2 separate regions of the Homo sapiens genome follow, and region 1 is linked to region 2. Evidence: promoter capture Hi-C in human tissues and cell types (Jung and others, 2019). All regions are on one chromosome and are shown on one strand. Each heading gives the region's core, a stretch centred on a gene start or on the middle of the fragment in contact. The rest is flanking DNA. Distances are from core to core; before and after follow the strand shown.

What was found. Contacts are between HindIII fragments. The study calls those that stand out against the background at their distance.
Region 1: a fragment that was not itself captured here is called in contact with the fragment with the promoter of AHDC1 in region 2 in 4 of the 25 tissues and cell types used here (dorsolateral prefrontal cortex, mesendoderm cells, spleen and 1 more).

What each region holds. Positions count from the first base shown.
Region 1 is chr1:27,498,324-27,502,696 of GRCh38, forward strand. No RefSeq gene overlaps it. Among named protein-coding and RNA genes, the nearest start is that of WASF2, 10 kb to the left of the region's middle. The HindIII fragment of the contact is 9,908 bases long and covers 1-4,373 here.
Region 2 is chr1:27,602,746-27,607,687 of GRCh38, forward strand. It overlaps AHDC1 (AT-hook DNA binding motif containing 1), which reads right to left and starts at 1,399. Exons shown (of 9, transcript NM_001371928.1): 1 at 1,361-1,399; 2 at 983-1,118; 3 at 652-749. RefSeq lists enhancers at 41-90, 3,673-3,967, 3,859-4,707 and silencers at 574-653, 1,204-1,743. The HindIII fragment of the contact is 10,400 bases long and covers 1-4,942 here.

The DNA of each region.
Region 1 (4,373 bases), core at 45-2,544, 100 kb before region 2:
CCACAACCTCCGCCTCCAGGGTTCAAGCAATTCTCCTGCCTCAGGCTCCCGAGTAGCTGGGATTACAGGCATGTGCCACCACGCCTGGCTAATTTTAAATTTTTAGTAGAGACAGTGTTTCTCCATGTTGGTCAGGCTGGTCTTAAACTCCCGACCTCAGGTGATCCTCCCACCTCAGCCTCCCAAAGTGCTGGGATTACAGGTGTGAGCCACCGCACCCGGCCTGAATTATTTATTTATTTTTGTTTTTTATTTTTTTGAGACAAGGTCTCACTCTGTCGCCAGACTGGAGTGCAGTGGTGCTATCTCAGCTCACTGCAGCCTCTACCTCCTGGACTCAAGTGATTTTCCCACCTCAGCCTCCAAGTAGCTGGGACTACAGGTGCGTGCCACCATGCTCGGCAAATTTTTATTTATTTATTTATTTTTTGTAGAGACGGGGTTTTGCCATGTTGCCCAGGCTGGTCTTCTTCTTCTTCTTTTTTTAAATAGAGATGGGGGTGGGGCTGGGGGTCTTGCTATGTTGGCCAGGTTGGTCTTTAACTTTTGGCCTCAAGCAATCCTCCTGCCTTGGCCTCCCAAAGTGCTAGGATTACAAGCATGAGCCACCCGGCCCAGCCTCCCAGGCTTGTATTGAACTCCTGAGCACAAGCAATCTGCCCACCTTGGCCTCCCAAAGTGCTGGGATTACAGGTATGAGCCACGGCACCCAGCCCAAAATCCTGCCTCAGTTTTACCCCCTTCATGACATCTTCCAGTCTATTCATTTAATAAGGATACATTGCTGCCTGCCCTGGCCAGGCTTGTGCAGGGCACTGGGGACGGAGGGATCAGTCCACTCAGACTCTGCCCTTGAGTGGCTCCCAATCTGATGAGGGAGAAGATATACATAAAAATTACAATAAAAGCGGAAGACACTGATTGCAGTAGGAGCTATGAGCTTATAGAAGTAGAGAACTTAACTGGGAGATTGGGACAGGCTTACAGAGGAAGGGCCATTTGGAAGGGGTTTTGAAGGGTGAGTAGGAGTTCCTCAGGCAGAATTAGGAAGTAGGAACAGAATATGATCTACCCTGCAAAGTGGACTGAATAAAAAAAGCCTGAGGAATAAAAACCCTAGAAGAAAACCTAGGCAACACCATTCAGGACATAGGCATGGGCAAAAACACCAAAAGCAATTGCAACAAAAGCCAAAATTGACAAGTGGGATCTAATTAAACTAAAGAGCTTCTGCACAGCAGAAGAAACTATTATCGGCCGGGCACAGCGGCTCACGCCTGTAATCTCAGCACTTTGGGAGGCTGAGACGGGCAGATCACGAGGTCAGGAGATTGAGACCATCCTGGCTAACACAGTGAAACCCCATCTCTACTAAAAATACAAAAAAATTAGCTGGGCGTGGTGGCGGGTGCCTGTAGTCCCAACTACTCGGGAGGCTGAGGCAGGAGAATGGCGTGAACCCGGGAGGCGGAGCTTGCAGTGAGCCGAGATCACACCACTGCACACACCAGGCTGGGAGACAGAGGGAGACTCCGTCTTAAAAAAAAAAAAAAAAAAAAAAAAAAGAGAGAGAGAAAAAAGAAACTATCATCAGAATGAACAGGCAACCTACAGAATGGGAGAAAATTTTTTCAGTCTACTGATCTGACAAAGGTCTAATATCCGGAATCTACAAGGAACTTAAACATATTTATAAGAAAAAAACAACCCCATCAAAAAGTGAGTTAAGGATATGAACACTTCTCAAAAGAAGATATTTACATGGCCAACAAACGCAGGAAAAAAAGCTCAACATCACTGGCCATCAGAGAAATGCAAATCAAAACCACAAAGAGATACCATCTCACGCCAGTCAGAATGGCAGTTATTTTTATTTATTTATTTATTTTTGAGACGGAGTCTTGCTGTGTCACCAGGTTGGAGTGCAGTGGCGTGATCTCAGCTCACTGCAACCTCCGTCTCCCAGGTTCAAGAGATTCTTCTGCCTCAGGCTCCCCAGTAACTGGGACTACAGGCGGGTGCCACCACACCCAGCTAACTTTTTTTTTTTTTTTTTTTGACAGAGTCTCGCTCTGTCACTCAGGCTGGAGTGCAGTGGTGCGATCTCGGCTCATTGCAAGCTCCGCCTCCCAGGTTCACGCCATTCTTCTGCCTCAGCCTCCCGAGTAGCTGGGACTACAAGCGCCTGCCACCACACCTGGCTAATTTTTTTTTTTTTTTTTGTATTTTTAGTAGAGACTGGGTTTCACTGTGTTAGCCAGGATGGTCTCGATCTCCTGACCTCATGATCCACCCATCTTGGCCTCCCACAGTGTTGGGATTACAAGCATGAGCCACTGCGCCTGGCCAGAATGGCAGTTATTAAAAAGTCAGGAAACAATAGATGCTGGTGAGGCTGTGGTGAAATAGGAACGCTTTTACATTGTTGGTGAGAATGTTAATTAGTTCAACCATTGTGGAAGATATTGTGGCAATTCCTCAAGGGTCTAGAACCAGCAATACCATTTGACCCAGCAATCCCATTACTGGGTATATACCCAAAGGAATATAAATCATTCTACTGGCCGGGCGCGGTGGCTCACGCCTGTAATCCCAGCACTGTGGCAGGCCGAGGTAGGCGGATCACGAGGTCAGGAGATCGAGACCATCCTGGCTAACGCAGTGAAACCCTGTCTCTACTAAAAATACAAAAAATTGGCTGGGCATGGTAGCGGGCGCCTGTAGTCCCAGCTATTCCGGAGGCTGAGGCAGGAGAATGGCGTGAACCCAGGAGGTGGAGCTTGCAGTGAGCCGAGATCGTGCCACTACACTTCAGCCTGGGTGACAGAGCAAGACTCCGTCTCAAAAAATAAAATAAAATAAAATAAATCATCCTACTATAAAGACACATGCACATGTATGTTTATTGCAGCACTATTTACAATAGCAAAGACATGGAACCAACTCAAATGCCCATCAATGATAGACTGGATAAAGAAAATGTGGTACATATACACCATGGAATACTATGCAGCCATAAAAAGGAATGAGATCATGTCCTTTGCAGGGACATGGATGAAGCTGGAAGCCATCATCCTCAGCAAATTAACACAAGAACAGAAAACCAAACACCGCATGTTCTCACTCATAAGTGGGAGTTGAACATTGAGAACACATGGACACAGAGAGGGGAATAGCACACACCAGGGCCTGTTTGAGGTTTGGAGGGTGAGGGGAGGGAACTTAGAGGATGGATCAGTAGGTGCAGCAAACCACCGTGGCACACGAATGCCTATGTAACAAACCTGCACGTTCTGCACATGTATCCCATTTTTTTTAGAAGAAATAAAAAAAAAAAAGAAACGACTGGAGAGTAACATGTCTTGGGTCAGTTTTATGTTAGGTTCCATACTAGGCACTGCAGGTATAGAAGTAGAAAAATATGGCTGGGCGCGGTGGCTTAAGCCTGTAATCCGAGCACTTTGGGAGGCCGAGGCGGGTGGATCACCTGAGGTCAGGAGTTCAAGACCAGCCTGACAAACATGGAGAAACCCCGTTCTCTACTAAAAGTACAAAATTAGCCGGGCATGGTGGCACATGTCTGTAATCCCAGCTAGTCGGGAGGCTGAGGCAGGAGAATCGCTTGAACCCACGTGGCAGAGGTTGTGGTGAGCCGAGATCACGCCATCGCACTCTAGCCTGGGCAACAAGAGCAAACTCCACCTCAAAAAAAAAAAAAAAAAAGAAGTAGAAAAATATTGACCGAGTGCAGTGGCTCATGCCTGTAATCCCAAATCTCAGCACTTTGGGAGGCCAAGGCATGTGGATCTCCTGAGGTTGGGAGTTCGAGACCAGCCTGACCAACATGGAGAAACCCCATCTCTACGAAAAATACAAAATTAGCTGGGCATGGTGGCGCATGCCTATAATCCCAGCTACTCAGGAGGCTGAGGCAGGAGAATCACTTGAACCCGGGAGGTGGAGGTTGGGGTGAGCCGAGATCGCACCACTGCACTCCAGCCTGGGCAACAAGAGCAAAACTCCGTCTCAAAAAAAAAAAAAAGAAAAAGAAAAATATTAGGCCCTCAGGGAGCTTACAGACTTGGGGCAAGGAAATGAAAAGGAATAAGCAAAACAAAAATATGGATATAAAAAATCCATAGGGGGTTAGGTGTGGCAGCTCATGCCTGTAATCCCAGCACATAGTGAGAATCCCATCTCTACAAAAAAAAAAAAGAAGAAGGGCTTCGGGAGCACCAGGAAGAGACCTAAACCGGTCTGGAGGAGTCAGTAGAGGAGTAGTTGACATCTAGGCTGAGACTTAAAGACCAGAGCCAGATCGTGTCACCTAGTGCCATACCAACCTAGGTATAAATTCAACATAAAAACAAAAC
Region 2 (4,942 bases), core at 149-2,648:
GTTCGCCAGGTAACCGGGCACGCGGCCCAACCCCTCCAGCCCTAGCCGCCCCCAAATCCCTCCTCCGCCCCACACCCCCTCCGGGTCATTAGGTCCCCGCCCCTCAACTCCCCGAGAGCCAGTGGATCCTAGGGATTTGGGGGTTGGAGGGGAGGGGCTCCTCCCTCCGCAGTCTCCCCTTTTCCCAGCGCCGATCCTAAAATCCAGCCTTGTTCTCCGCTCCCACGGTCCCCCCTTCATTCCCCCCCCCCCCACATTCTCAGCAAGCTGGAGAGCAAATTGCAGTTTTAAATCCAAAGGCGGAGGGAGGGGGAAGGAGGAGGGGGCGCGCGGCAGCGCTGGGCGCGCACCTCGCCCCCGAGCCGGGGGAGCCGCGGGGCGGCCAGGAAACCCGAGAACCCCCCCTCCCCGCCCCCCCTCCCCGTCCACCTCCCCCTCCCCCTTCCCGGCGCTGCCTGCCAGGCTTCGAGCCGAGCCCAGCCGAGCCGCGGGCCCCGGTGGAAACAAAGACCGATCGCACCGCGGGCACCGCAGCCACCGGGTCCAGCGGACCGGACCGGGGGACGCAGGCCCCCCCCGTGCGCTGCACAAAAGAGCCTGGCCGGCCGGTCCCCAGCGGGGGTCTGGGGCTGGGGAGGAGGCGCCACTCACCGGAGTGCTGGGCTGCCGGCTCCGTGGGTCCGAGCCAGGCGAGGGGTTTTGGGGGACGTCTGTCTTCCGGCGGTGGCAGCGACGCGGGCGCCCGGCTGCTGAGGAGAGGAGTCGTGGAGGAGCCCTGAGCCGCCCGCCGTCGCTGACAGCATGGCTCGCGCCTCGGCTCACATTCTCCGCCGCTAACTCCGCTGGACACGGCCCCCCGCTCCCGCGGCGCCCCCCCACCTCGATCACTCCTTCGCTCTCTCTGCGCCCCCCTCGCCCTCCCGCCGCGCACACACTCTCCCAGCCCTGGACACCCCCGCCCCCACCCCCCCCAATAGCAAACCTGGGAGGGAACGCGCCCCGCGTAGTCCTCCTGCTCCTCCTCCTCCGCCCTCCTCCCTCCCGCTCTCTCTGGCTGTCTGTCTGTCTCTCAGACTGTCTCTATTTCTCGCTCTCTCTGCCTTTCTCTGCTCTCCAAGCTGGGTGGGAAAAGGAAATGAGGACAGAAAGCAGACGCTGGCTTTGGGTGGTGGTAGCTGGATTCCCTCTCTCCCTCCCTCCCCCTCCTCCCCTCCCTCCTCCTGCCTTCTGCTCTCTCCGCTGCGAGCGGGGCTGAGCGCAGCCTGGCGGGTGGCTCGCTCTGCCCGCCCGCCCGCCTGTCTGTCTGTCTGGTCCGCCTCGCTCGCTCCCTCCCTCCGTCTCTCGCCCTCGCCCTGCCTGCCTGCCTCTCTCCGTCTCCGCCGCCGCCGCCGCTGCCTCTGCGAGCTCGCCTTACCTTCGCCGCTCACCATCCGGAACCCCAGGGGGGAGCGCGCGCGCGGCACGCCGGGACTTGTAGTCCCCGCCCCGGCCGCTCCGCGCGCGGGGAGGGCGGGGCCGCGCCGGCTGCTCCGACGGCGCGGCCAGGAGCCCCGGGGACCCCGCGCCTGGGGCTCGTCTGGCTGGAGCGCGTCCTCGTTTACCAACGGGCGAAGATCCTCCCCAAGGGTTAAGAATGGTCCCTGTGTTCCTTGTCTCCACCGGGGGGCTCTGGATCGAGCGGAGGTTGCGGGTGGGAGTGAAGGGGCGGGGTCTGAGAGTGGAATGGGAGTGGAATAGGGAACCAGGGGATTAGCCAAAGGGGCTGCGACTTTCTGGGGCGTCCCAATTAAATGGGAGGGGGAGAGGGCAGAGGAGAGGACCGGCTCTCTCAATCTGGGGACGTTATCCTTTTCTGAAAAGGTTTCTTATTGAGTAAAGCTCAAGTATATATGGCGGGAGGGCTGCTGGGGCGGGGGAGCGGGGGAGACCCAGCCAGCGCTGCTTCCTCACTCAGTGACCCCTCCTCTCAAACTCCGACCTCGGTTTCGCCCTTGCAACTCCCAGCTTTCCTATATGTCCAAGGGCGGCGAGGGCTCAAAAGTCCTGGATAATCCGCAGATAGAACACACACACCCTTTTCCGAATTCTGCTGAGCATTTGCGTTGTGTCAGGAAGCAGGATTCAGATTGAACGGTGCTGACCTCCTGCCGCGGCCGGGGGCTGGGCTCAGCACTTTCACCTACCTCCTCTTCAGGTCACATGTGTTCTCCAGCCCCTGCCTAGCCTATCCCACAGATGGGAATGTGCGCTGCTTGGGGGCCTTGTTACCGCCCCCGGAGATGGCTGAACTGCTGCGGTAAAATAGTGCTGTTATTTCCATTTTAGAGATGGGGGCACTGAGGTCCAGGTTCTCCAGTTAGCAAGTGGCTGAACCCAGCTGGATTTGAACCAGGGTCTGACTAACTCCAAACCCCACAAGCTTAACCCCTGGGCTATGACAAGGAGTTGTGACTCCCTCCATTTCTGTAACTGACCTTCTCTCCCTGTGTCTGTGTGTCCTTTCTTGGCACTTCAACAAATGTTAACTGAGGTATGCAGGGCTTGCAAGGGACACGGAGATGAATAATGCATAGTGGCTGTCGTGTCCTGTGTCCTAGGTGTCTACCAACGCCGGCCCTGACTGGCCCTGCGGCGGTCCCACCTCACTGGACCACCTCATCTGTGTGTCTGATGTTCCACACCCTGTGTCTGCTGGCCTTGTCTATCTTGCTCCAGGTCTGAAGTTCCTAGAGCAGTGCCTTTGTCTCTGGCCTACCTGTTTCTGACTCTTCCTTTGGCCTTGCAGGGTGTTGGCCAGTGTGTGACAAAGGCAGCTGGTGACATTTTGCCAACCGCAACTCCCTGGTCACTATCTTCCCCACACCTTCACTCCTTCCAAGCTCCTTCTCTATGGCAGTCCAGTACCCCCAGAGGACAAGAGAGGGGATCTGGGGAACACTCTCTATTGGCCCTTGGCAGAGGGTGTGTGCAGCAGTAATAGGAGAGGTCTAGGGCTCTAAACGGGACACTATTGATTTGGCATCATGGGGCTGCCATGACCGACTGGAGAGGCCCTCATCTTGGAGCAGCTTCTCCTTGCAGACAAGTTAGGACTTGGGTTCAAAGATTTATTCATTGAATGGGAAATATAAGGTCAGATGCTCATAAAAGTAGTGGCTAAAGTCATTAGAGATTCTGCAGCTCCAAAGCCTGGGCCTGAAGTGATCCCAAATAGATGAGGCTTTGGCACCTTGCCCTAGCTGGCCCCCTATAGGACAGACAGACTTCGGCGTTGGGGAGGGTGAAAGAGACCCAGGTTCCTCCTCCTTTCTCTCCCTTCCCCCATTACCCATTAGATTCTGCCTGTAGTCATGAAGACTCTACTCAGTTTGAATCAAGTTTTAGGAGGGAGTTGGGTGGGATAATATAGGATGGTTTCTGGGGTGTGGAGAGCCCCAGTAGGTTGAGATGAAGGGGAGTTTGGGAAAAGCATGGGAGGGGGAGGTTAAGTAATGAGATGCAGAGGGCAAGATTAGTAGGGCCCATGGCTCTATGAGTTAGAGGGAAATAGAAGTTAGGTAGGGTTTCTCGAGCATGCCCCTCCCACCCCAGGCTACTTCAGCGGTCCCCTTCCCCTGTGAGGGTGAATTCCATTGGCCCTTAAAGTGTTGATCATCACTGGAAACCAAGCATTGCAGAGTCTCCCTGTTATTTGGGGGCTGGTCTTTTTCGTGGAGCCTCTCCAAATTGTGTTGAGTTTGGCGGGGGGTGGTCTCCCCAAACTCAAGTTGTCTTCCCGTGGGCTGCTGCTGCCACCTAGTGTCTAATCTTCGTTTCTGCTTCAGCAGTTGTCAGCGAGCAGGAGGGAAAGAAGGCTTGAGGCAGAGGACACAGGTTCTGGAAGAGCCTGCATCATCCCTCTCTGGGCTCAGCTCCCTCCAGCCGCTTTTGTTTCGGTGTAAGCAGAAGGTGGTGTAGCTAGACCCTGGAAAATAAAGATGAGAGTCTGGAATGGGGCCTTGGGTTTGAGAGGCCATGTGGAGCAGGAGCTAGACAGGCCTGGTCCTGATCTTGATTTTACTTGTGTGTCCTCAATCTGTGTGAGTCTCAGTTTTCCCATGTGTAAAATAGAAGCAGAGCTGTTGAGAAGATTAACTGAGCATATAGATGTAAAAGCACTGTGAAAACTGGCAAGGGCATGGTGAGAGAGATGATGAGTCACACTAATAATGACAATAACTGACAGGTCCCAGCAGCCTGGAGCCAGGCCCCCAGACCTCATGGAAAGGGCAGGATGAAGTGAGTCTTGGGTAGGGACTAGCACGGCCCTCCCTGAATATGGAAGTTCTGGGGGTGGCCCTACTCCTGGGGCTGCTCAGGAGAGGTGTGGACTGCTAGAGGGTGGTTCAGCCCAGTATGCAGAAGGGGAGACGGAGGCTTAGAGAGGTTGCGGGCCTATCCTAAGCTATTGAGCTGCAGATCCAGGAACAAGAGGCCCATTGGACTGGAGCCATTATGGCCCTGGTTTTCCCCTTCTTTGGATGGGAACAGCTCAAAGCTGGAGCCCAAGAGACCACGCAAGCAGGAAGCCTCCCTCATTGTGGTACAGTGGGGACTAAGGCCCCCAGGCTCTGTTAGCCCTCCTCCTGGGCCAGCCCCTTTCCCCTCCCCCGTGCAAGTCCTCCCACATTCCTCTAGGCCACAGGAAACCCCAGCTGCAGCCCAGACTTCAAACAGCTCCTCCCTCTGGGGCAGGGGGTGTGGGAGGAGAGGCCAGAGGCCAGAGGGCAAAGGTCAGCTTTGTTCCTGCCGGAGGTGGTGAGGGACCTGGGGGAGACAGAGGGGGAGCAGGGTCGGGCCCTTGACAGCCACACTGAGTGTGTGTGAATTCCTGTGGCCGTCAGGGTTGTGTGATTCCCGCTGTGCGCCTGTGTCTGGGGGGTAACCCTGTGTCCTCGGTTTG